Regions from separate parts of the Homo sapiens genome. Here region 1 is linked to region 2. The links are contacts of gene promoters, found by promoter capture Hi-C in human tissues and cell types (Jung and others, 2019). All regions are on one chromosome and are shown on one strand. The core of a region is centred on a gene start or on the middle of the fragment in contact, and the rest is flanking DNA. Distances in the headings are between cores, read along the strand shown.

Region 1 (6,582 bases), core at 62-2,561, 1.2 Mb after region 2:
GGCAGGCGGATCACCTGAGGTCAGGAGTTCCAGACCAGCCTTGCCAACATGGTGAAACCCCATCTCTACTAAAAATACAAAAATTAGCCGGGCGTGGTGGCGGGCACCTGTAATCCCAGCTCCTCAGGAGGCTGAAGCAGGAGAATCGCTTGAACCTGGGAGGCGGAGGTTGCAGCGAGCCGAGATTGCGCCACTGCACTCCAGCCTGGGTGACAGCCAGGCCCGGTCGCAAACAAAACAAAATTAAAACCATGAAAGGAATCAGGATTTGCCAGGAGTAGCATTTTTGCTTGGTAAGAACAAAATTTTGTTTATACATGAAATAAAAAATATTTTATTAAACCTCACTGCAAAGTGGCAACTTTTTGCTAAATTCATAATTTAGTCTACACACAAGCTATGTACCCGTATGTGACTGCCAAGAGTTATATCTTTGCTTATTAAAAGCAAAGTGCAGTTCATACCTGAGATTTTTTTTCTGGATTTAACCAGGAGGGGAAATATTTTTGCTAGGTAAGTCCACATTTTACCTCACAGGCGAAACAGTTTACCGAACTTGACCACCAAAGAAATCGTTTTTTCCTTGGGAGATCCACATTTTAGTTCATACATGAGATGTGTTTCTGAATTTTAACTGCCAGGAGTAGTGTTTTTCCTTAGGGTAAGTTTCAGTTTCCACAGGAAAAATCTGAATTTATCTGCAAGGAGTAAAATTTTTGCTTAAGTCCAAATTGTACACGAAATATTTTACTAAATTTGAATATCTTTAACATTGGAAGTTCTTTTTTTTTAAACACTGGAAGCATTTTAAGAACTGCAAGACCAAATTTAAAAAAATAAAACCAGTAATATCATCGATGATTACCAGGTGTTACTGGAAATAATTCTGGCGCGGTTGGACAACCCCCCAAGCACCCGGGGGCCTACCCAGGGGAGGGGTCCCGCTGCGTGAAGGGACCCTAGGGAGGGCGACGTGGACCACGACAGACAAACGGGCACTCGAAGACCCCCGAAAATCGGCCCCAGCGAGCCGCCCCCGCCCCCAAGGCACGATTGTGGGGGCGGGGACGGCTCGGGGCGCGCGCAGCGCGTACCCGGCGCCACGGCAGCCCCGCCCCCAGAAGGACGCGCGCAGGAGGGGGCGTGGCCCGAGGCTCACCAACCAATCTCCAGAGAGCCTCTTCCTTTCCCTTTCCCTTTCACCAATCAGGCGCTGGGAGGGGCGGGCGCGACTTTTTTTCCCGGCGGCCCCGCGGCTCTGCCCCTCGTGCGGTCGCGTTCCCGGCGGCGCGGGGGGCGTGGCCTGGGCGCAGCATCTATAAAGGCGGGCGGCGGCAGAGGCGCCATTTTGCGAACGGCGAGCAGCGGCGGCGGCGCGGAGAGACGCAGCGGAGGTTTTCCTGGTTTCGGACCCCAGCGGCCGGATGGTGAAATCCTCCCTGCAGCGGATCCTCAATAGCCACTGCTTCGCCAGAGAGAAGGAAGGGGATAAACCCAGCGCCACCATCCACGCCAGCCGCACCATGCCGCTCCTAAGCCTGCACAGCCGCGGCGGCAGCAGCAGTGAGAGGTAAGTGCCCCGCCCCCGTCCGAAGCTTCCAGAAGCGCCGGCCGCGCAGGCCTGCGGGGGGCCGTCCTCGGGGCGCCAGATAGGTCCCCGGCGCGCGAGATCCGCCCCTTTGTCAAGGCCAGAATCGCGCCGGGGACGAGGTAGGCGCAGGGCGGGCCTGGAGGTCCCCCCCGGCCTTAGCAGTGCTCTCGGGGGAGTCGGGTTTGGGGGGCAAGGGTGCGGAGTTGGATTTGGGGGGCACCGTCCGGGGCGCCTGATTTGCGGGAGGGGCATGGGTCGGAGGTCGGATTTGGGCGCAGGACGGGGAGTCGGGGGAGGCGTGTGTCTTTTGCGGGGTTCGCGGGATGGGACTCGGCTTCGGAGGAGGGGAGAGGCTTCTGGTCGAGGGTTGGATTTGCGGGGCGCAGACTGGGAATTCGGTTTGGAGGAAGGGTGTGCGGTCGGGTCGGATTTGGGAGGCGCAGGATGGGGCAATCTGGTTGGGGGCGGGGTCGGCCTTGGGGGGCTGGTCCGCGGACAGGCAGGGCCCGCGGGGCTGGTGAATCTGCACTTTTCGGTCCCGGCCGTCGAGCGTGCGCTGCGGGAGCGGGGAGCGCTTTGCGGTGGACGAGCTCCCGCGGGTCCCTGTTGCCTCGATGTGGCCCCTGCACGCGACGGACCTCGTGGGCCCCGTTTTTCGCCCCTGAGCGAGTCGGTCTGGATGGCCCGGGACGCGCCGGGCGAGGCCGCGCACGTAGACGGCACCCAGGGCTTCTCCGCGGGGGCCGCCGGGGAGCTGGGGGTGGCGCACTCCGACAGCCCGGCAGCGCCCTGGGAAGACCCCCGCCGCTTCCCGGGAAGACGCGTCCCGCTTCCGGGGGCGCGGGTGCCAGCTGCGGTTGTGGGGGAGCCCGCGGGGTCTCGGTCGAGCTTTCCCGACTGCGTCCCCCGAGGTGGGCGTCGCTCAGCCCCGGATCGGGAGGTTGGGCCGCGGTGCTGGCGGTGCCGCGGTTTGGGGGCCGTGCAAAATGGAGGCAACTTTGGGGCCTGTTTACCCTGCGCAGCAAATGGCTGCTGGCGCTGCCGGCTGCGCGATTGTGAAAATCTCCCCCGGGGCGCGAGGCCGCGTCTGCCTGGATGACGCAACCGGGAGGGCCCGGGCCTGGAGCGGGGGCGGGGGGGCGGGCGGCCGGGAGCCGGAGCGGGGCGCGTCCTCCATGAGGTCAGGCTAGGCCCGCCCGGTCTTCGCGGGGACAAGCAAGAGTCCCAGATTTTGGCCGTAGTGCAGGGTGGAAAGGGGAAGCCGCGACAGAACTGAAAAGGGGAAGCGCTGGCTGTCTTGGTGGCCGGGGGGTGAGGCTCTGCCCCGGCGGGGCTGCGTGAGGGGAAGGGGCCCCCCGCCCTGGGAAGGTTGGGCTGTCCTGGGCGGCGCCGCCCGAGGAGTCGGGGCTCAGTGACTGCTGCCCTTGTAGGTGCTTGGGGCAGGCGTTGGAGCTGCCTTCGGGAAGCCTCGGGGGTGTGGGACCGGGTGGGCCCCTGCCTGGGCGGGGCGGGGTCTTTTGGCCGAGGCAGGGGTGGGGATGTGCTGAAGGCCGCCCGGACGCCCTGGAGGGGTCTCCGCCCGGAGCCTGGCGCTGCCTCGTGACCTGCATCATCTTCAGTTCCAGGGTCTCCCTCCACTGCTGTAGTAACCCGGGTCCGGGGCCTCGGTGGTGCTCCTGATGCCCCTCACCCACCCCTGAAGATCCCAGGTGGGCGAGGGAATAGTCAGAGGGATCACAATCTTTCAGCTAACTTATTCTACTCCGTGAGTATGGGGCCGGGCCTGCTGGGGCTGCTCTGGGGCCACAGGTACTTTCTTGTGCACCTTGCTGCCCGTACCTGTGATTGAATGTAATCGTGGGAACCCTGAGTTTCATCAGAGCCGGCGCACAGTCTCCTGCAGCCCAGGCGTTGCCTGAGCTCAACACGGCCTAGGCCCAAGCTTTAGCGCTGCCGGGTTCTTGGAGTCCTGTGGGGTGAGTCAGGGTTCTGAATTGGGCTGCACCCCCTGGACAGGATGATCGGCTGAATGTAACAGAGGAACTAACGTCCAACGACAAGACGAGGATTCTCAACGTCCAGTCCAGGCTCACAGACGCCAAACGCATTAACTGGCGAACAGTGCTGAGTGGCGGCAGCCTCTACATCGAGATCCCGGGCGGCGCGCTGCCCGAGGGGAGCAAGGACAGGTGAGGGGCAAGGACAGGCAGGGAGTGCTCACCCAGGGGAGCAGGGACCAGGTGAGGGGCAAGGACAGGCGGGGAGTGCTCACCCAGGGGAGCAGGGACCAGGTGCGGGTTGCTGCCCAAGGGGTGCAGGGACAGATGAGGGAGGGCACTGCCTTCAGGCAGCACATATGGGGGCCACCATCGCTTTGTTGGTGGGGACAGGGTCCCCCCTTTTTTTTTTTTTTGAGATGGAGTCTTGCTTTTGTTGCCCAGGCTGGAGTGCAGTGGCATGATCTTGGCTCACTGCAACCTCTGCCTTCCGGGTTCAAGCGATTCTCCTGCCTCAGCCTCCCGAGTAGCTGGGCTTACAGGCGCCCGCCACCGATGCCCAGCTAATTTTTGTGTTTTTAGTAGAGACGAGGTTTCGCTATGTTGGCCAGGCTGGTCTTGAACTCCTGACCTCGTGATCCGCCCACCTCGGCCTCCCAAAGTGCTGGGATTACAGGCGTGAGCTACCGCTCCCGGCCTGGGGTCCCTTTTTAAAAAGTGCACTCCAAATTCGTACCCTGGGATTCTACCCTCCAAGGGATGCCAGGCAGTGTCAGAGCTTTTCTGTCATGGGGCATGCACGTGGGTGGGTGCAGCGGTGCTGCTCAACACTGTGGTGTCAGGACGGCCCCACCCAGAGGACGATCTGGGCCCCAGGGGGACCCTGGAGTAGAGCGGGCCTCAGGGTAGCTGCTAAGGCCCAGGAGGTAGGCAGGTGGGTCGGGCCAGCCGAGACGCTGACACTCGCTGCAGCTTTGCAGTTCTCCTGGAGTTCGCTGAGGAGCAGCTGCGAGCCGACCATGTCTTCATTTGCTTCCACAAGAACCGCGAGGACAGAGGTAGGTGACCCGTATCGCCTGCAGTAGGGTGCGTGGGGGTGCCTGCGCCGCCCCTTCATTCTCAGCCCGCAGGCACGGTCTCCCTGCGGGGGTGGGGGGTGCGGGCGGGGGGTTCTGGTCGGCAGGGGTTCTGACGGCTTCTCCCCCGCAGCCGCCTTGCTCCGAACCTTCAGCTTTTTGGGCTTTGAGATTGTGAGACCGGGGCATCCCCTTGTCCCCAAGAGACCCGACGCTTGCTTCATGGCCTACACGTTCGAGAGAGAGTCTTCGGGAGAGGAGGAGGAGTAGGGCCGCCTCGGGGCTGGGCATCCGGCCCCTGGGGCCACCCCTTGTCAGCCGGGTGGGTAGGAACCGTAGACTCGCTCATCTCGCCTGGGTTTGTCCGCATGTTGTAATCGTGCAAATAAACGCTCACTCCGAATTAGCGGTGTATTTCTTGAAGTTTAATATTGTGTTTGTGATACTGAAGTATTTGCTTTAATTCTAAATAAAAATTTATATTTTACTTTTTTATTGCTGGTTTAAGATGATTCAGATTATCCTTGTACTTTGAGGAGAAGTTTCTTATTTGGAGTCTTTTGGAAACAGTCTTAGTCTTTTAACTTGGAAAGATGAGGTATTAATCCCCTCCATTGCTCTCCAAAAGCCAATAAAGTGATTACACCCGATGCACCTGGCTCTGTGGTGGTGACGCTGGGGACTGGTGGGAGGAGTGCCTGGGACCACAGAGGGCCCTGGGTGGAGGGGTCGCGGGGGATTTGGCACCCAGGCAGCTGCGGGACCCCTCCCACGGAGGAGACCCCCTGGGCTGGGAGGCCGGGCCCTCAGCTTGGCGCCAGCCTTGCCACTGCTCGCTTGAAGCCCCTTCCTGCCTCGCGTCCCCTTCCGCCCCAGCCTGGGCCTGCGCATGGGGATGTCTGTGCTCCCAACTCAACTTTTGAGTTCGCCGTGTTACTGGCCGCCCCTAGGGACCTGCAGCGCCGTTCGGGGCAGCAGCACTTCCGGCGGGGTCGTGGCCTGGAGCGCTTCCGGGTCTGCAACCCCGCCGTCTGCCCGGCCGCAGCGCCACCTGCCGGCCGCATCCGGGAGCGCCACCCGGAAAATCAGGGCCAGGCCTGGCCGGGAAACCGGCTGGAAAGAGGAGGAAAGGAGGAACTCGAAAAGATTGTAGACTTGGCGAGCGGGCCGGGGGGATATTCAGCCGTCTGAGCGGTGGTGGGGTCGGCCGGGAGGACAAACCTGGACACAGATACCCCCAGCTCATTTGGGCAGCGCAAATGCAGAGAAGGGGCATTAGAGCTGAGGCCATGCAGGATGAATAGGAGTATGAAGCAGAGTAGAGGGGGCTGTTTTCTGGTGTAAAAAACAACTTGGGCAAAGGCGTGGAGGCTGGAAAGTAACCTCCAGGGATGAACGACATGGGGTTGGAGACTCTGAGGAGACTTTGGAAGAGCCCTGTATGTATTCTGAGGCACTGGGGAGCCATGGGAGGTGTTTGAGCTGGAGAGGGACCTCATATCTGGGGTTGGAAAGATCCTCCCAGGACTGCCATGGGGAATGGAATGGAGGGGCAACTCTGAGTCTCCAGGAAGGAAGCCACAGGCAAGGGCAGTGCAGTGTGTCAGAGGCATAAAGGAAGACTCCATCCCCCTCCAGTGAGTCTCCTCTGTGCCTGTTTATTACATCATCCTGTGGTATTAAGTGAGCACCTACTGTGTGCCAAGCCTGGCCTTTGCCCCCAGGGAACTCACAGCCTTGTGGACAGTAACAGAGGAATAAATGCTCCTGAGAGTGGGCGGAGAACGCAGGGTAAGGAGCTAGCGATGGCCCAGAGTGGGCACCTTTATTTGTTTAGAGAAAGTGAAACTGTAGCCGGGCGCGGTGGCTCACGCCTGTAATCCCAGCACTTTGGGAGGCCGAGGCGGACGGATCACGA
Region 2 (5,944 bases), core at 3,445-5,944:
GAGAGGGGCCCGCGAGGCCCATGGTGGATGCTGCTGGTGGCCACGCTCTGCCTTCCAGGCCCACACATCCAGCAGGAGCTGTGCCCAGGACAGCAATGGACCCTGTGCCAAGATGTTCCAAAAAGTGCTGATACACAGTGGGCCGAGGTCGGGGCTGTCCAACGCTTCACAAGGGACGCACGGCTGTTACCATCCCTGGTTTATATACGAGGAACTGACACAGAGGTCCCGACAGACCTGGACCTGCTGAGGTCACATGGCCAGGAGGGAGGGGCCAGGGCAGTGCCAGTCTGCACAATTAAGGCCCCACGGGGAAGAGCAGCTCCTGGGGTTGCCCTGGGCAGGGTCAGCTTGGTCCAGGGTCAGCGGGAGAGGGCACAGGACACACATCCTGCCACACCCAGCACTGGTGTGAGTGACCCGTCCCATGAAGACAGCGGACGTGATGAGAGGGCACCAGTGTTTTCACACAATGTGCACACACTCCAGTCAAAGACTTCAAGTCCACCAGACGCTATGACTCAGACGTCACTGTGTCTCTGCCCCATCAGGTGCTCCGTGCTGACCGAGCTCAGGGCCCCTCTTCCCTGACTGAGCATGACCAGAAAAATGCCCCACTGGACAAGGCCCGTTGCCGCCAAAGCCTCAGCTCCCCTTCAGTCTCCCACCACAAAACAAGGAGCAGGCACCACCCAGCCAGACGCAGGCTCATCCCGAGTCCCGGGTCCTCCTCCCCAAGACCTGTCTGTCATCAGCCACCCTGCAGCAGCCACCTCACCAGGCCCGGCCCTGAGCCACACGCCCAGGCAGCCTCGTCCACGCCCACAGTAACCCTCCCCAGGGAGCTCACCTGCAAATGCTCCCATGGGCCCCTGGCCACCCTCTGCCCGCAACCTGGCTCAGCCACTCGCATGCCCTGGGTGGTCCAGTCCCCTACACTCCATGACCCTGTCCCTGACCCAGGCTCCCCAGCAGGCACCCACATGCTCCAGCCCCACGGCCTTCCCACACGCTCTCCAGCTGCCTGGACACCCCACCCCATCCCACTGGCTGTGGCTCACCTCCAGGAGGCCCTGCCCACCCAGCACAGGAGTCACCCCACCCCTATGACCCTTCCTTCCTCCGGGTCAGCCCACACACGGCTGCACCCACAGGAGCACCTCCCCCAGCCTGGGGCCGTGCTCACCGCCTCCTCCAGGAAGCTTCCTGGATGTTCTGGCCGAGGCTCTCAGGGCACCCCAACACTCGGCCACTGGGTGGGCCTTTCCTTTCCTGTCTCCCCACAGACCTGGAGTGCCAGGAGCAGCCTGCCCGCTCTCTGGGTATTTGACTGACCCACAGACCGACGGACACACAAGCCCGCGGAGCCACACTCTCCTCCCAGGTGGGACACAGAGCCCTCAGCCCCAGCCAGGAAACACTACCTGGGGCTCCCCTTTGTCCACCCGGGGTGCTTCCTGCCTCCAGGCCACCGGGGCCTCTCCTTCCACTGCAGCCTCACAGTGGCCTCAATGTGACAGGTCCCCCATTCAGAGCAGGGCCCCTGGGGTCTCACATACCCCGTCTTTAATCGTCACGACCCCACAAGAGGAGCCCCATTACTCCCTGTGGCTAGGCGCGGGCCCCTGCCCATGTCCAGGGGTGCTGAGTCGAGACCCCTTCACCCTGTGGGCATCCACTTGGTGGTCACCTGGGTCCAGAGCCCAACCGCACAGGTGCAGGCACCCAGTGCCCCAAGATGGACAGTCTCTGCCACACTGGGCTCAGGGCCATGAAGGCCAGCAGAGGTGGATACTGAGGCTGGATGGAGGTCTCCCGAGGGCCCCTGGAACACAGGCCCCTGCCGCCTCCTCTCTCCCCAGCACCTGGCACTGCCTGGCATTTCCTAAAGCCACCCAGGCATGGATGAGGGACCGGGGGGCTCCATGCTGGCTCAGAGCTGGGAGATCCTGGCATTTCCTAAAGCCACCCAGGCATGGGTGAGAGCTGGGGGACTCCATGCCAGCTCAGGGCTGGGAGCTCAGCTGCACAGATGCCACAGGATGAAGCCACCTTGAAGGGATCATACCAGGGAGGACCTGGCTCTCTGCAGGGAGACCCCCGGAAGCCAGGCAGGCAGGAAGCAGAGGAGCCTTCTGGAACTCAAGGCAGCCTCTGAAATCAGGCAGTTCCAGCCTGCACTTTGCAGATAAGTAAAAGTGAAGGCAGCAGGGTCAGATTCTGTGCCACCAGATTACCGGGTGGAAAATTCACAAAGAACAGATTTCCCCACCCAGGCCAGGCATGGTGGCTCACGCCTGTAATCCCAGCCTTTTGGGAGGCCGAGGCGGGCAGATCACCTGAAATCAGCAGTTTGAGACCAGCCTAGCCAACATGGCAAAACCCAGTCTCTACTAAAAAGACAAAAAAATTAGCCGGTTGTGATGGTGGGCACCGGTAATCCTAGCTACTCCGCAGGCTGAGGCAGAAGAATTGCTTGAACCCAGGAGGTGGAGTTTGCAGTGAGCCGAGATCAAACCACTGCACTCCAGCCTGGGTGACAGAGCAAGACTCCATCTCAAAAAAAAAAAAAAAAAAATTCACCACCCAGAGATCTCACAGTCCAAAGCCCTCTGCTGAGAGAGGAGGGATTGGGGTTACTGAGAACCTCCCAAGAGTCTCCACCCTACACAGAAGACGGGGAACTCCAGCTCTGGCCCAGCCCCATCTGACCACCTGTGAGTGGTATTGGCCTGGAGATGGAGCCGGGTAGGCTTGATCCCTTTCCAAACCGGGACATGGTGGGACCAGGGCCCAGGCGACAGGGATGCACCTCCCAAGGAGGCTGAGCTCCGTCGGGGGAACCTGGCCTGGCACCCAGCACACACCCTCCACAAGCCTAAGGACACAGTGGCTCCATCCTGTTCCCAGGCTACTCCATGGAAGGAAAACCCACGTCCACAGACCAGCCTCCGTCCACAGTTTCAGGCCCCGTCTGTGGACCCCAGAGCCGGGAAAGGCCGCCTGCCTGCGTAACCCTTCACAGCCCTGCTCAGGTGCCTACTGAGGCGACCATGCCACTCTGGGGGGCTGCAGGGAGGAAGGTGGGAAGGATGATGGGCTGAGCTCTGGCCTGGGGAGGCACGGATCTGGAGGCTGGGGGGCCTTCCGTGAAGTGGCAGCAGGCTGGGACCCACACCCAGGTCCGCAGGACGGCCAAGGTCCAGCTCCACTTGCCGAGCCCAAAAAAGCAGCCAGCTCCTGACCAACCTGTGTCAGGCTGGGAACTTGCCCACGATCGCAGCCTGGCCCGCCAGCATCGGACCCCTCTTTGCAGGCTAGATCCAAAAAGCTCACGGCGCAACTTCAGCAGCCCCCAAGCCCCGGCGCGGCGGTGTTCTGATGCAGAACGAAAACGGCCACGTCCCCATTTCGCCAGGTGGCCCAGGACCCCGGCCAGCTTGTTTTCTGAGGGGCTGCAGCTGCTACTGAGCCCCTCTTGTCACCCAAGCAAGACTCCTTCTCAGAGGGAGTCAGGCCGATGCCTGTCCTGCACGGCTGAGACCTCTGCCATCTGAGGAGGGCGGGAGGGGGACAGAGCCCAAGACGCGGAGGCCGGTGCCTCATAGGGGAGGCACGGGCGACAGACCCACAACCTGAGCTCCTGAAGCAGGAAGGGAGTGGGGACCCAGCGGAGGAAGAGGCCGGGGATGGGGTGGTACGCTGCTGCCGGTGACTTTGCCGCTAACCCTAGCGAGGTGACCTCAGCTAAGTCACATTCCCCTGAGGCTCAGGAGCGGGGAACGCAGCTGAAAGGCTACAAGGAGGGAGAGAGGGGAGTGGGGAGTCGACTTCCAGGACAGGGGTTGGTCCGAGGGAGACCTGCGTCAGGCTGGGTTCTGGGCCAGCACATTGGGAGGGGAGAGAGGCCTCGGAACTGAGGGTCTCAGGCGGCACAGTCAGGGGTCAAAGGGCGGGAGGTGCTACCTCGCAGGCCAGGACCGGACTCCAAGCCTGGGTAGGTGGGGACCTGGGAAAGGCGGTCGCCGGGGACAGGATGGGCCCTGGAGGGAGCTGACAGTGAGGTTTCCAGAGTAGAGAACAGCGGCTTCTAGTGCAGCGGGATCCGGCCTTCCCGGGTGGACGTCCCCGGGCGGGATGGGGTCACGAGACGGTGTCCCTGGCCAATCCCAGGGTCAGAGGTCGCGAGGGAGAGCCCTAATCGGTAGGGCCGGGTATAGGCCTCAGGGTGCAGGGTGGCGCTCGCTGTCCCCAGCGGGGCCAGGGGTCGCGGTCGGAGGTAGCAGACTTGGGGGTCGGGACAGCCGCTGGGGTCAAGGGTCGGGGGTCGGGGCCGCGGTCACCTTGAGCAGCACGAAGAACTCGAAGAGACGGCGGAAGGCGGGCGGGAAGAGCCGCGAATAGGTGACAGCCATCTTGAAGAACAGCGCGTGGAAGAGCCGGTCGCGCACGTTGATGAGGGGGTTGGGGTTGAGATTGGGGGTGCGAGGCCCGCGCGCGGGGGCCGGGCCGCCGCCGCCGCCGTTGGGCCCGGGCCCCGGAGCTGCGGGCTCCACGTGCTCCGACATGCCTCCCAGCGTCGCGCCCTAACGACCCGCAAGTGTCCGAGGGCGCCTCCCGGCCGCCATCGGCCGCCCTCGCAGCCGCCGCTCTCCTCACGGCCTCCCGGCCGCCGCCGCCATCTTCCGCTTTCTCGTCCGGCTGCGGCGCTGCTGACGCTAGCGAGTCGCCACGCCGGGCAAGAGCGGCCCCCCTGCGCCCGCAGAGAACGCTGGGATGCCAGCGGCGCCCGCGGAGGCCTCACCCCCTACCTCGGCCGCTCCAGGGGGCGGGCCTGCATCTGGGCCACCTCTTTTGCATATTGGCACCCACAATCCACCGCGGCTATGAGGCCAGTATAAGGCGGTAAAATTACGATAAGATATGGGATTTTACGTGATCGAAGACATCAAAGTAAGCGTAAGCACGAAAGTTGTTCTGCAACATACCACTGTAGGAAATTATGCTAAATATGAAACCGACCATAAGTTATCCTAACCAAAAGATGATTTGATTGAAGGGCTTAAAATAGGTGTGACAGTAACCCTTGAGTCGTGCTCGCTTCGGCAGCACATATACTAAAATTGGAACGATACAGAGAAGATTAGCATGGCCCCTGCGCAAGGATGACACGCAAATTCGTGAAGCGTTCCATATTTTTGCTGTAGTCTACAGCTCGTCACCTCGTTTGGCTTCTCTTGCCCGGATCCTGCCATGACGTCACAGGGCCAGTAACGTCATAGTCTTCCCGTGTCCATCTCCTGTGGCGCCACTAAGGTTGGCGGTAGAACAATCTGGCAGTCTCTACTCCTGCGTGGCGCTGTGCCACCTGCCCCCGTAGCTTCGCGCAGCAATGAATAAATAAGTGCTCTTCAGGGGCACTTACTGAGTGCCGGCTGCGTACACAAGAGGATACTATGGTTTTTGGGTTTTTTGGTTGTTTGTTTGAGATGGATTCTCGCTCTGTCGCCCAGGCTGGAGCGCAGAAGCGCGATCTCGGCTCTCTGCAACCCCCGCCTCCCGGGTTCAAGCCATTCTCCTGCCTCAGCCTCCCAAGTAGCTGGGATTACAGGCATGCGCCACCACTCCAGGCTAATTTTATATTTTTAGTAGAGACGGTTTCTCCATGTTGGTCAGGCTGGTCTCGAACTCCTAACTTTAGGTGATTTGCCCGCCTAGGCCTCCCAAAGTGCTGGGATTACAGGTGTGACCCACCAAGCCCGCCAAAAAAAAGTTTTGTGTTGTTTTTTTTTTTTGAGACGCAGTCTCACTCTGTCGCCCAGGCTGGAGTGCAGTGGCGTGATCTCGGCTCACTGCAACCTCCGCCTCTTGGGTTCAAGCAATTCTCTGCCTCAGCCTCCTGAATAGCTGGGATTGCAGGCTTCCGCCACCACACCCGGCTATT

What was found. Contacts are between HindIII fragments. The study calls those that stand out against the background at their distance.
Region 1: the fragment with the promoter of OAZ1 here is called in contact with the fragment with the promoter of TMEM259 in region 2 in 1 of the 25 tissues and cell types used here (hippocampus).

The regions. Positions count from the first base shown.
Region 1 is chr19:2,268,175-2,274,756 of GRCh38, forward strand. OAZ1 (ornithine decarboxylase antizyme 1) reads left to right here and starts at 1,312. Exons shown (of 5, transcript NM_004152.3): 1 at 1,312-1,570; 2 at 3,211-3,356; 3 at 3,608-3,780; 4 at 4,561-4,646; 5 at 4,798-5,314. The coding sequence starts at 1,425. The coding sequence ends at 4,934. It overlaps LOC105372240 (a long non-coding RNA gene), which reads right to left and starts at 1,079. Exons shown (of 2, transcript XR_936242.3): 1 at 928-1,079; 2 at 319-698. It overlaps PEAK3 (PEAK family member 3), which reads right to left. Exons shown (of 4, transcript NM_198532.3): 4 at 6,457-6,582. RefSeq lists silencers at 879-1,368, 2,334-2,393, 2,604-2,803, 2,814-3,153, 4,693-4,842 and 1 more and enhancers at 1,011-1,625, 4,363-4,422, 4,433-4,492, 5,933-6,072. The HindIII fragment of the contact is 6,913 bases long and covers 1-2,564 here.
Region 2 is chr19:1,016,429-1,022,372 of GRCh38, forward strand. TMEM259 (transmembrane protein 259) reads right to left here and starts at 4,695. Exons shown (of 11, transcript NM_001033026.2): 1 at 4,344-4,695. The coding sequence starts at 4,568. It overlaps RNU6-2 (RNA, U6 small nuclear 2), which reads left to right and starts at 5,094; the gene lies at 5,094-5,200. RefSeq lists silencers at 1,979-2,198, 4,457-4,516, 4,547-4,616, 4,777-4,886 and an enhancer at 2,582-3,181. The HindIII fragment of the contact is 9,371 bases long and covers 3,796-5,944 here.